3 separate regions of the Homo sapiens genome follow, and regions 2 and 3 are each linked to region 1. Evidence: promoter capture Hi-C in 16 types of primary human blood cells and fetal thymus (Javierre and others, 2016). All regions are on one chromosome and are shown on one strand. Each heading gives the region's core, a stretch centred on a gene start or on the middle of the fragment in contact. The rest is flanking DNA. Distances are from core to core; before and after follow the strand shown.

Region 1 (4,243 bases), core at 1,744-4,243:
TGGCAATACTGTTTTAAAGAGTTGCTAATCTGTATTCCATGAATGCTTCATTATTTCTTGAGATGGTTCTTCCACTTGTGGTTTGTACCTCTTTTTTGATTGTGTTGGTATTCAGATTTTTGGAGTTTTCTATACTCATCATTGAAGCTGTGATACTCAGTTAAAACTCTTCTACCACTGCTGTTTATGGGACACTTTTGATGGGAAGGGAATTTATACAACATTTGAAATTTTCAGACTAATTTGGGGATGGGCGGGACATTTCAAAGCAGGGCACCTGGGCATTGCCTTCTCTCTCCAACCATTCATTTCTCTGCCTAAAGCTCTGATTCTGTTAGTCTGACTGAGATATTGGCATGTGCAGTCAATATCCAGATAGTTGTCCTGCTCCCAGTTTTCCTTTCTTGTGGGTCTAGAGCACCTTTAGTGGCGTCACACATCTTTGTGGCAGTACTTCACTATGTGCTTCTGCTCTGGGTTTCCTCTTCAAATTCCATATAGTATTAGTCTTTTAGAGATTCCTCAGAAATTCTGCTTTACAGGTTCCACTTTTTGCTTGCAAATGTGGATTTATATGTGCCTATCTGTGCATGTACCTATGTAAAACGTATTTGTCTATCATGTTTAGGGTCATTTGCCATCTTGAAACCAGACACTCCTTGTCAGCTGGTAGGCCATGCCCTTTATTTCAGTGTGAGTTTGGCACTTCAGCTTACATATTTCTTTTTCCACTCCTTTCCACATCTCCAAACCTTTCAAAAAAAGAAGCCAATTTGGTTGTTAGACCAAGGCTGGAAATAAGGGGGTTCAGATATACAATCATGATAACGCTAACATTTACTGCACACTTATCACATCAGACACTTTTACTTACTACTACAGGAATAAACTCATGTAATCATTATCCAAGGTCGCTGCTATTATCCCTATTTTACAGATGATGCAACTAAGGCATCAGAGATATTAAATGATTCTGGTTCTTGCTCGCACAGTCTAGTCTGACCATGTTGAATCTTACTTGGTCCCAACTTATTTCCAGATTTAAAGGTAAGCAAGAACTTAAAGATTCTGATCGCCAAGATTTATATATCTGAGCCAATCCTCACTCTATCAAGTTTCTGTAATTTGGAAGACTTTGAGAACAGATCATCTTCCCTTTTCATCCCCCTCAAAAAAATGGAGAAAATATAAGAAACTGGAAATTCCTGGGGATGTTTTTAGTTGGAGTTGTGTGTCTTGGTATTTATGTTTATCTGTAATTTTGAACTGGTATCTTAAAATTCTGCAGTTACAAATAAAAACAGATTGACATGTTCACTGTCTGTGTTAAGGAACTAAAACTTAATATTTCCTTTTCATTTGTTTTAGTACATAGTACTCTGAATCAATGGAGAAATGGATATTCACCTATATGTAAGCCTCAAATAAGGTCAGAATCTTCTGCACAACTGTTACAGGGAAGAAAGAAAAGACATTTGAGTGAAACAGCATTAGGTAGGTTAAAGTGAGGATATAAGCAGTAGTGATAAATATTAAAAATTAAAAATTCTGATTTTAAAATAACCTCTCATGGGAGTTTATAATCCAGAACAGCCACTAATAACACAAAACATCTATGAGTCTACAAACATGAAACAGCATATTCGTAGTTAATTTAGAATTATTTGTGGACTGGTATCTACCCACTTTATGGCAATTAAGTATTTCCCTCCTATGTTCCCTGACTAGTTGTCTTCTACCAATCAGTCCCTGGATGGGATTTAATCTTCAAAGTTGTGTTCTATGCTCAAAATAGGCTAGTGCAAAGTTGCCTTACAGAAACTGTTAACCATTTATGGTACCTACTGTGGAGATGTTGATGCACTGCAGATTCCTCAGGATTTTGAGAAAGTCAACAAGATTCAACTTATATATATATATAAAGCTTTAAAAACATCTAATAAGATGCAACATGAAGTATACATTACCTAAGATATAAAATGTTTCACTTAAATTGACTGACACTTTAGATCTAACTTCAAGTTTGATGTACATACAGGAATAAAATAAAGAAATGTCATACTACAAATAAATAACTAGACAATTCCAAAAGGGTAGGACATCTGGTCCAGCCTGTCAAAAGTCAATGTAATGAAAAATGATTTATTCTAGACTATAAGAAACCTAGGAGACAATGGCCAATTTTTATATATAGATCCTTATCTGAAGAAACTAGCTATAAAGGACTTTTTTTTAACAAATGGAGATATTTAAATATGGACTGGGTATTAGATTTTATATTATGCAGGAAATATTCTCATTTTAAAACACTTGTACTAAAATAAGGGCAGTAAGTAAACGCATACATATATATATTTACTACACACACACACACACACAGTAACTGGGAACCAAAACAGGAAAAAAAAAAAAAAAGAACTTGGAAGATATACAGAAAATACTAACAGAAGTAAACTTCTAATCAATATCCTGAGAGATATGAGAAATTTCATCTATGAAACAAGAACAGGATGCTGTTTTAAAAAAAGAGTACCAGAGAACAAGTACTTTCGGAAACATGTACTTATAATAGCAGAATTTTTTCAAAAAATTAAGAGTGTTCAGAAGACCAAGGACAGATACCTCACATAAATTAGGATAAAAAGTCAGATATGAAAAATGAGATTAGATAAGAAAATTAAGATAGTTCTGGTGGTTCAACTATGAATAGGAGTCACAGGAAACAAGAATAAAGGGATGAGATGAGGGATTATTCAGGGAACAATAAGAAATATATTCGATAAAAACTGCCAAAGCCCCAGAAAATGGAAATAACTTGTGGCATGACTGCAAGTAAGGCTCCTCTTTTTTCATTTCCTTTTTTGTTTTCTAATACACGAATTTAAACACACACACACAAAACAAGGAATCAATCACCTGTCATCTAATTAGGAAAGTAATTCTAATGATATTAGACTTGTTTAATGTGTAACATTCAATGGTTCTTTCCATGGCAGGAGAAAGAACTAAACTTGAAGAATCTGATTTTCAACACACAGAATCAGGATCCCATAGCAATTTTACTGCTGTTTCCAATGTCAACGTTTTATCAAGAATCCAGAATTCATCACGAGTAGGTTTTTCCATATGTTGAACTCTAAAATAGCTTTAAAAATAAAAACACCTGATTTTGAAAATAATTTATATTTTGCTAATCTATAACAGCCTTACTAGCACATATTAACAGACATTTATAACTATCTTGTTAGAAAACAATATATTTGATTCATACAACTTATTTTTAACTATGAAGCTAAAAGTTCATTAATATTTGGTTATAGCTTCTTTTTATGTGTTAAAAATTTAAACATTATCATGATCATCTCTATTCCTTAACATATTAAGCTAAATAAAGTCTTACTAATGAGAATTCAGGACTTTCTTGTTCTTGTCCTGTTTTTTGTTTGTTTGTTTGTTTTTTTGTTATCTGGCCAGGGAATAGAGAGGTCAAAAGGTGGGAGGGTTTAGAAATGAATTCCGAAACTCAGGAACCAGGAATGCATAAATGAAGAGTATACTGAAGGGCTGACCAAAAATGTTTCACTGCCTTTCCTAATAAAAAGTGGTTACTGATCATTTTCATTGACATTTAGGGTGATGTATGTTGGTCTTTTCTGATAAAGAGTTTTGCATTTAAGACCTATTTTTTGTGGTCTTAAAAATAAGCTTGTATGCTTGCACACATAAATACACATTACACATCTACCAAGAGATTGTTCTGATTTACAAAAGATAGAAAAATGTTTTATTTTTTGGTTTTCTTAACATTTTTTAGTCAGACTTTATAACAATGTATTTACAAAAATTATGTAACGTGTACTGCCATATTTACATAACTGATGAAAGGAGGGTATCATTACAAGTAACTAGACAGTACTGTAAATCTACTGTAATCCTGTTTTGCAGAATACTGCACGACGGAGATTGAGAAGTGAGAGCTCTTATGACATAGATAACATTGTGATTCCCATGTCATTAGTAGCCCCAGCTAAATTAGAGAAACTCCAATATAAGGAAATACTTACTCCAAGGTATGTATACTTACATCTTCATATTTTTCTTCCTTCCTTCCCTAATAAACTTAAATTTTCAAAGTGAAGAATTTTAATTAATGAAAGGAGCATCCTTCTCCCAGTTCCTTCATAGCCATGGAGGGGAAACGGTGAAAAAAAAATTACTCGTGCCTTAAGTGTTATATAGTATC
Region 2 (4,548 bases), core at 1,072-3,571, 1.6 Mb after region 1:
TTAAAATAAAATAATTATATTAGAGATAATATACTACAAAAAATAAAAATAATATACAAAAATATATATAATTTCCTGCAATATTATAATTCCATCTAACATGATACAATTTATTTAGTACCAAGAGTGGTTGGTTCCAGAGGAACAGAACCTTAAAGAAGAAACCATCTGTATTTATCACCTATAGCTGTGTAACAAAACATCCCAAAATATTGTTGTGATTTAAAATAACAAACATTAATTTGTTTCACAGTTTGGGAGATGCGTAGCTGGGTATTATTTTCTAAGATATTTACAGCACAAAGAGAATCTCAGTGAATAGTCAGATATATAGTTTTGGAGATTTCTGGATTATATTCATAGCTCAATGCCCATATTTACTTTAACGATTTTTTTTTTAGAAAATGAGAGAATAAGCAAAAACTAATTTTGGGGGTTGAAATACATACCAGAATTTATCTATCAATATAATACAACATGGATTCTGAGTTATAAGTAGATACACTGAAAGTGAGCCTAAAATCTCACATATCAAAAAGAGCAAATGAACTGGATATACATGAGTCTCTGAGTGGGCATGGCAGGAAAAATTGACTCCTTCCCATTCGTTCTCTAGAAACAGTCAGGCACACCTGAAGTTTTTTGTTTTGTTTTGTTTTGGTTTTTTCCTGGCTGTTTTTTTCAGTTAAACCGTTACTTCCTTTTACTTCAATCCTAGAAAACATTGTATAAATTGTGACCAAATTTCAGAACTATACATTTGATTCAGAGAAATTTGACTTCAATTATCAAACGTGAATATTTCAAATCACCCCTTGTGCCATTTTTACTCGAAAATATTCTTTTTTATTTCTTCCTGTGTACACGCAGCCTTTTTATAGGGATAACCTTTTCAGGAAACCATGCATCTTATAAACTACAGCTTCTAAAGATATTTTGTTCTAAAACATCTGGTCAGTTTAGCCGGGAGCAAGTATGATCAGAATGTGCTAAATCACAATCTGTTAAATTGATCTTTAGTCATTGTATTAGTCCATTCTCACACTGCTATGAAGAAATACCCAAGACTGGGTAAGGAAAGAGACTTGATTGACTCACAGTTCCACATTGCTGGGGAAGACTCAAGAAACTTACAATCATGGCAGAGGGCAAAGGAGAAGGAGGCACCTTCTTCACTGGGCAGCAGGACGAAGCGAGTGCAAGCAGATGAAATGCCAGACATTTACAAAACCACAAGATCTCATGAGACTAACTCACTATCAGAACAGCATGGGGGAAACCGCCCCCATGATCTCATTACCTCCCCTGCTTCCACCCTTGACATGTGGGGATTATGGGGATTACAATTCAGGATGAGATTTTGGGTGGGGACACAGCCAAACCAAATCAGTCATTTCCAGTAAAAGCAAATAAGTACTTGTTTTTTATATTGCTTTCTTTTTATTCCTTTGTTGTAGATACAAGCACTGTTTAACATAGAATGACATTAAAATGATAGTGTACTTCAAACAGAAGAGCAGTTTACATTTTCAATGTCTAGTTCTCCAAAAGCAACAATTGCACCCAAAACAAAATGTTACATTTAGAAAAATAGATGTTAGTAATTTTTCCTGGACAAGTGATCATTTATGATTTGAAATAAAATGTTAAATTCCAATCTGTCACATATTTGATAGCTAAGAGAAGCCCTACTTTGGTAATTTGTACTTTATTAAAAGCCCCTAAAGTTATAAATATAGATACCAATTTTAATGTCAAGACATGAAAATCTTCATAATTAACCCAATATTCACATTTATTCAATTTTTAAGTAACCATAAATCCATAAGTTAGCTTAATTTAAGAGGTATTCTGGAACTTCCAGCATGATGGAGTTGATGTGCTTTCCCCAATTCCTCTCAGTAAATATAAACAAAAGCCCTACACATTACATATAAAATGAATATAACAATATTCTAAAAGGCAGAGAGAAGATAGCAGAGCAGGCTACAGATCCTGGAAGACAACATGGTGGTAAATTCCCTGGGTTTTCTTTCTCCCTCATACATCCCCAACTTGGAGTAAAAGAAGCTGGAAACTCTGGAATATCAATAGGCACAGGCAGAAAAATTTAAAAGTCTCAAGAGAAGCCTGCTCTCTAGCCAAGGAAGAAAAAAGACAGCCTGGAAAAACACCACAGAACAAGCTGCAGCCCACAACTGGGGCTTAGCCTGGGAGGGTTTCTGGCTCTGCCCAGGGAAGAATTCAAAGACAAGCTGGTGGTGTTTGACAGCAACTTTTATAGAAGTGACAGTATACAGCAGCAGCAGAGGTACTATTCCTTGCAGAGCAGGGCCAGGCAGTCTGCCCAGAGTAGCAGCTCAAAGGCAGTTCTGCAGTCATATTTATACCCACTTATATGCAAATTAAGAGGTAGATTATATAGCAATTTCTTTTAAAAGGGTGGTAACTTCTGGGTCATTGGGTCATTGCTGTGGAAAGGGGTGGTAACTTTCAGTGTTGCCATGGCAATGGTAAACTGGCATGGAACACTGGAGGATGTGTCTTATGGAAAGCTGCTTCCACCATGTCCCTCTTTTAGCTAGTCCTCAATTTGGTCCAGTCTCTGAGCCCCACCTCCTACCTCAATATCTCAAGGGTTCAGCTTTTTACTCCATCTCATTACATGTGATTTGCAAGTCATAAATCATTGCCTTCACAATGATTATGACCTCCTTAAGGTCATAAAAATTATAATTTTTAAGAAGTATTCAATCTTATGTAATTATTTTGTTCTGCTTGATTTTGATTTGCAGCTTCATGAACCCATTAGTTTTTTCATTAGAGTTTTAGAAATTTTTATTTAGTCCATTGATCTCAATGGCTACAACAGGTCTCACCCGGTTTCCCAGTGGTCTTTTGATTTGCTTAGTTTCTTGGCCTCAGGCTTGGCCTCTTGGTTCAAAATCATTGTACAAAATAAATTCGTTATGCTCCTGTTGGTTTTACTTTGTATTATTTCCTTTAAACTTTGGACCTAACTGTGTCCTGCCCCAATTCTATAGAAACAACACTCCTGATAGAATAATGCTGGGCCAGTGTTTCAAATGATAACCAATACTTATGGAACCAACAAAATTGAACTTAACTGTGGACCCCAGGAAGATTTAGCCTGAGAGCCACTTTCTCCAGGTCAGGCTTGTTGCTCAAATGTGGCTGAAAGTGATTTGATACTGACTCCCAGTCGCCAATCACTTCTTCCCAATGTGAGACCATACCAACAATCCAGGACAGGTGCATCTCAGCACCAAGGGACAATTAAAACCAACCCACAGGAGAGTCGATCAGTGATGCTTTCAGAGAAATGTGGAAGTTGTAAGATCCAAACTAGAGTAACTTATGTCAAGCCTTGGCAAGTGGAGCAGGGCAGACCCATGAAGGCAGGGCTCTCACACATGATTTGCTGGATAATGGGAACTATCGCAAGAAATTTTTCCAAACCACAGTTTACTACATGGACAGCTTACACAAGGACAGCTAGCAACACAAGGACAGCTAACCACTTATACAAGAACACTTGCCTGACATGCTGTCTCACAAACCCAACCCAAAATGACAAGGGACCCCTGCAAACTCCCAGAATGGTTTAAGAGCAAAGTAAAGAACTAAAACATTCCCTCTCACTGGCCTGAAACAAGGCTTCTGGACACCCCCACCTTTTCTTCACAACCTGCATATAAGAAGCCTGGACTTCCACCCCTCCTGACAGTAACACAGTGTCCCTCTACTCCTCTGCTGGAGCGGGGGTCAGAGAAGACCTAGTGGAGAGTCAGCCTAGCAGTAACAAGGCTACTCCCATTGTGGTGACAGTGGAGGCCACATGAGGAGCAGCACTCATACCCCCACACATCAGGACCACGGAGCAGCCCACCATAGGTGTCAGTGATAGCTGACGGAGGAACCAAAACTTCTACTTCTATGAGCAGTAATAAGGTGATAATCCCACTTCCCCAGTTATATTAGTACCAGACCAAGTAGAGCAAACAAAATTACCAGAGACTAAAAGAGGGACATTATATCATAATACAAGGGTCACTCCATCAAGAAAACATGGCCCTCAAAAATGCGTATGCATCAAAAAAACAGAGCTGCAAAATATGTGAAGCAAAAACTGATAGAATGAAAGAAGAGATAAACAAATCCACTACTACAACTGGAAACTTCAACCCCCTTTCTCAGCAATTGATAGAACAACTAGACAGAAAATCAGCAAGGATATAGAACTCAACAATGCCATCAACCAACAGGATCTAATAGACATTTACTGAACGCTTCACCCAGCAATGGAGAATACACTTTCTTTCCAAATACATACAGAACAAATACCAAGGTAGACCATATCCTGAATCATAAAACAAATCTCAACAATTTTAAAAGAATTGCAAGCATACAGAGTTCTCAGACTGCAATGTTCTCAGACCACAATGGAATCAAACTGGAAATCAATAACAAAAAGATAACAAAACTCTCCAAACACTTAGAAACTAAACACACTTCTAAACAATCCAT
Region 3 (4,261 bases), core at 1,424-3,923, 1.6 Mb after region 1:
AGAATGGCTTGAACCTGGGAGGTGGAGCTTGCAGTGAGCTGAGATCGCGCCACTGCACTCCAGCCTGGGCAACAGAGCAAGACTCCATCTCAAAAAAAAAAATAAAAAAGAAAAGAAATCAGACTCTAGGCCTCTTCTGGGAACAGGGAAGTTCTGCCTTTAGCAGTTAGGAGTAAGATGTCTTCCGCAGCCAGATTTTAGTCTCGTTATTGTCCCATCAGCAGCAAAATGGCCATTCAGTTCCTGCGTTCCTTTAAGCCACCTATTCTGTCTCTGATTAAGACAGTACTTAATAAGTACTTAATAATAGTATTAATTTTAATTACTTAAATAATTTAATTCCTTAAATAAAATTAATAATTTTAAGTCCAGAAGTTAACGGGAACCATTTTTCTAAGGGTAAATGCTTTAGCATGGGCCATAATAACAGGATATAGAGTTCAATCTAGCACGCCCCCTCCCTTAAAGGGGCCTTGCTCAATTACGTAGTTTTTCTTGAGATCCATTTTTTTAGGGAGGCACACAGGTCACACAAGTCTAGGAGGTCAAAAGGAAATAAAAGGCAGAGGACTAAGGCTGCTTAGGGAAGCGTGACTAGGGCCAAAAGTCTAGTTTCTCTGGTGCCATGGCTTAGAGGGTCATGCCTGCAGTCATGGGTGTCCCATTCAAATGGGTGCCAGGATCCAGGAACCAGGGAGAGAAAATAATTGGTGGGGGGGACACCCCCTACTGTTTTCTTCTCTATCCTGGATCACATACTGAAAGGAAGCAGACTAAAAGAACACTTTTATTCTCACTTCTCTTTCTAGATGAGTAACAGATTGTCTTCAACATGCACCCCCCTGGGGTATATTTTAAAGCACTGGGACTCCTTCGGCCCTGAGACTTTGAAGAAAAAGCACTTCATATTCTATTGCACAAGGGCATGCCCTTCTTACTATCTTCGGGACAGGCAAACCTGGCCTGCTAGTGGGGAGCCTTGATTTTAGTATTATCCAAAAGTTAAAACTTTTCTGCAAACAGAAGGGCAAATGGACTGAGGCTGCCTATGTACAGGCTTTCTTTGCCCCTCAAGACAACTCAGACCTTTACAAGTTCTGTACAATCAACCCAGTTCTTTTAGCAGCCACAACAGGCAAGCCCACAGGGAATAGTTCCCCAGAGCTAAAGCAGGTTCCAGAGGAGTAATCCGAGACAGCTATTGAATGTCCCAACCCTTCCAGTCCCCTTCCAATCATACCATCCACTCCTCCAGCTCTACCAGCTCCAGTATATCCTACTCTCCCCCCTTCACTCTTACCTCTGCAGGAAATGCCTGATGGGAGTGGTGCCATAAGGGTTCAAGTTCCCTTCTCATTACAGGATCTTAAGCAAATAAAGGGAGACTTAGGCCAATTTTCTGATGACCCCTGTAGGTATATAGAAATTTTCCAAAATTTAACTCAGGTGTTTGATCTCACACGGAGGGATGTTATGTTGCTGCTAAGTCAGACCCTCACTGCAGCTGAAAAGCAGACAGTTCTGCAGGCAGCAGAAAAATACGGAGATGAGCAACATGTCTCCTATAGCAGACCCAGGAGAAAAAGAGGAGAGAGGGAAGGTGAGGAAGAGGTGGAAACTCCATTCCACTAGGAAGGGAAGCAGTTCCAGTAGACAACCCTGATTGGAATCCCAATAACTCAGGAGATGAATGGAAAAGGAAGCCCTTTTTCTAATATAGAAGGCCTATGGAAGACCAGGGCCAACCCTTTCAATTACTCTAAACTGTCCATGCTAGACCAAAGATGAGATGAGAATTCCACAGCCTTTATGGAAAGGCTGAAAAAGGCACTAATAAAACACACCTCTTTATCCCCTGATTCAGTTGAGGGACAGCTCATCCTGAAGGACAAGTTTATCACACAGGCATCTCCCCACATTAGAAGGAAGCTACAGAAGCAAGTTGTAGGACCAGAGAGCACCCTAGAAAACCTCCTGAGAATAGCCACTTTAGTCTTTTACAATAGGGATCAGGAGGAGGCCTGAGAAAAGGAGAGGAAATACAAGAGAACAGAGGCTCTAGTAGCAGCGTTGCAAGCTTGTAAAGTCCAGAATCCCCAAGGTGCATCCACTAGGTGTTATCAATGTGGCCAGCCAGGGCATTTTAAGAAGGAATGCCCAGACAGCAATACGAACCTTCCTTGACCCTGTCCAGCCTGTGGTGGAAACTGCTGAAGACAGGTCTTTCCCTGGAGGCAGAGGTCACTGGGTTCAGAACCAGTCTCAGAGATGGTCCAGCAGGATTGACAGGTCCCGGGGCTCAAACCCCCATTCCAGCGGCTCAGTCTGCCATTACAGCACAAGAGCCCCGGGTGATTCTGAAAATTGAAGGAAGGAAGGTAGATCTTCTGGGTACTGGAGCCAGTCTCTCTTCTCCTCTGTAATCCAGGCCTTCCCTCTTCCTTTAGTATGACTGTAAGAGGCGTCTCAGGAAAAACTCTAACCTGATATTTACCTTTAACCCGTAGCTGCAGGTTGGGGGCTTACTATTTACATATGCCTTTCTAATCAGGCCTAAAAGTCCCACTCCTTTATTAGGTAGAGATATTCTAGCTCGCATGGGAGCCAGTATCCTTATAGCCCCAGGACAAACTCTTTGTCTCCCCCTGATGGAAGTTAACATTAATCCAGAAGTGTGAGCAACTCAAGGAAGAATAGGTTGAGCTATAACTGCTAGGCCCATCCAAATCTATCTTAAGGATCCCACTTCTTTTCCTAACCAGAGAGAGTATCCCTTAAGGCCAGAGGCTAGGAAAGGGCTAGAAGCCATTATTAATAACCTAAAGATTAGAGGCCTCCTCAAACCCTGTAATAGCCCCTGCAACACCCCAATATTAGGAGTGCAGAAACCCAATGGGGAATGAAGAATAGTTCAGGACCTTCACCTCATTAATAAAGCTGTAGTTCCAATCCATCCAGTGGTCCCTAATCCCTATATCCTGTTAACTCAAATACCTGAGGGAACTAAATGGTTTGCAGTCCTAGATTTGAAAGATGTCTTTTTCTGCATACTGTTACATCCCGACTCTCAATACCTGTTTGCATTTGAAGATCCCTCCGGCCAGACCACCCAGTTAACATGGATGGTTTTCCCTTAGGGATTTTGAGATAGTCTTCGTCTGTTTGGACAGGCACTGTCACCAGACCTCTCTGAGTTCTCTCATACTCAAGTTAGGGTCTTGCAGTATGTGGATTATATACTGCTCTGTGCCCCAACTGAGGAAGCTTCTCAGGAAGGTACTGAAGCTCTTCTCAACTTCTTATCTAGCAGAGGATATAAGGTTTCAAAACCCAAGGCCCAGCTCTGCAGAACCTTAGTGAAGTACCTAGGCTTAGTGTTGTCTGAGGGGACCAGAGCATTAGGGAAAGAGCGGATTAAGCCTATCTCCACCTTCTCCCTCCCCAAAACTCTCAAGCAACTAAGAGTATTTGGGGGCATTACAGGATTTTGTAAACTGTGGATACCTGGATATGGTGAAATAGCCCATCCATTACATAACGTCATAAAAAAACTCAGGGAGCTAAAACTCATCTTTTAACCTGGAAACCTGAAGTTCAAAAGGCCTTTGACAAGCTAAAGCAAGCTTTGCTCAAAGCAGCAGCTCTCAGCCTTCCTGTAGGGGAGTCCTTCAATCTGTATGTATCAGAAAGAAAGGGGATGGCCCTGGAAGTTTTAACACAGGCCCAAGGACCAGCTCAACAGCCAGTGGGTTATCTATCAAGAGACACCTCAGAAAATTATCCCAAGAAACTCACCTTCCTTGGGTCACTTTTCTTCCTATGGCCTTACTAGAAATAAAAAATACACCTTCAAAATTAGGTCTTAGCCCTTTTAAGATGCTGTATGGATGGCCTTTCCTTACCAATGATTTTCTATTAAATCGAGAAACGTCTAAGCTAGTTAAGCATGTAACTTCTCTGGCTCACTTCCAATTAGCACAATTCATGAAAGCCCAACCCCAGGAAATTGGACCACTCTATTTAACCCAGGAGATTTGGTACAGGTGAAGGCTCTGCTTTCCCTGCCTCCCTCCCTAAGCCCAAGCTGGGAAGGGCCTTACACCGTTCTTCTTTCAACTCCCTCAGGAATAAAAGTCATAGGAATCAAATTCTGGATACATCACACTCGAGTCAAAGCCTTGGAGAGCTAAGGGACCAAAGCCCAAAGGAATGACCTGAATATCTGTGAAAAAATAGATCTTAAGCTGAAAATCACAAAAGA

Evidence for each region. The method cuts DNA at HindIII sites, captures the fragments that hold promoters and counts their contacts. A CHiCAGO score of 5 or more calls a contact.
Region 2: a contact is called between a fragment that was not itself captured here and the fragment with the promoter of KANSL1L-AS1 in region 1, in 1 of 17 cell types (neutrophils). The highest score is 6.7, in neutrophils.
Region 3: a contact is called between a fragment that was not itself captured here and the fragment with the promoter of KANSL1L-AS1 in region 1, in 4 of 17 cell types (M0 macrophages, neutrophils, M1 macrophages and 1 more). The highest score is 9.9, in M0 macrophages.

The regions. Positions count from the first base shown.
Region 1 is chr2:210,028,672-210,032,914 of GRCh38, reverse strand. KANSL1L-AS1 (KANSL1L antisense RNA 1) reads right to left here and starts at 2,993. Exons shown (of 5, transcript NR_110291.1): 1 at 2,917-2,993; 2 at 1,408-1,448; 3 at 1-752. It overlaps KANSL1L (KAT8 regulatory NSL complex subunit 1 like), which reads left to right. Exons shown (of 15, transcript NM_152519.4): 9 at 1,369-1,494; 10 at 2,997-3,112; 11 at 3,946-4,070. The HindIII fragment of the contact is 1,781 bases long and covers 1,927-3,707 here.
Region 2 is chr2:208,423,345-208,427,892 of GRCh38, reverse strand. The region is part of intron 1 of PTH2R (parathyroid hormone 2 receptor); the gene reads right to left. Among named protein-coding and RNA genes, the nearest start is that of PTH2R, 19 kb to the right of the region's middle. The HindIII fragment of the contact is 5,136 bases long and covers 1-4,548 here.
Region 3 is chr2:208,390,896-208,395,156 of GRCh38, reverse strand. It overlaps a transcript of PTH2R not described here. Among named protein-coding and RNA genes, the nearest start is that of PTH2R, 14 kb to the left of the region's middle. The HindIII fragment of the contact is 1,187 bases long and covers 2,080-3,266 here.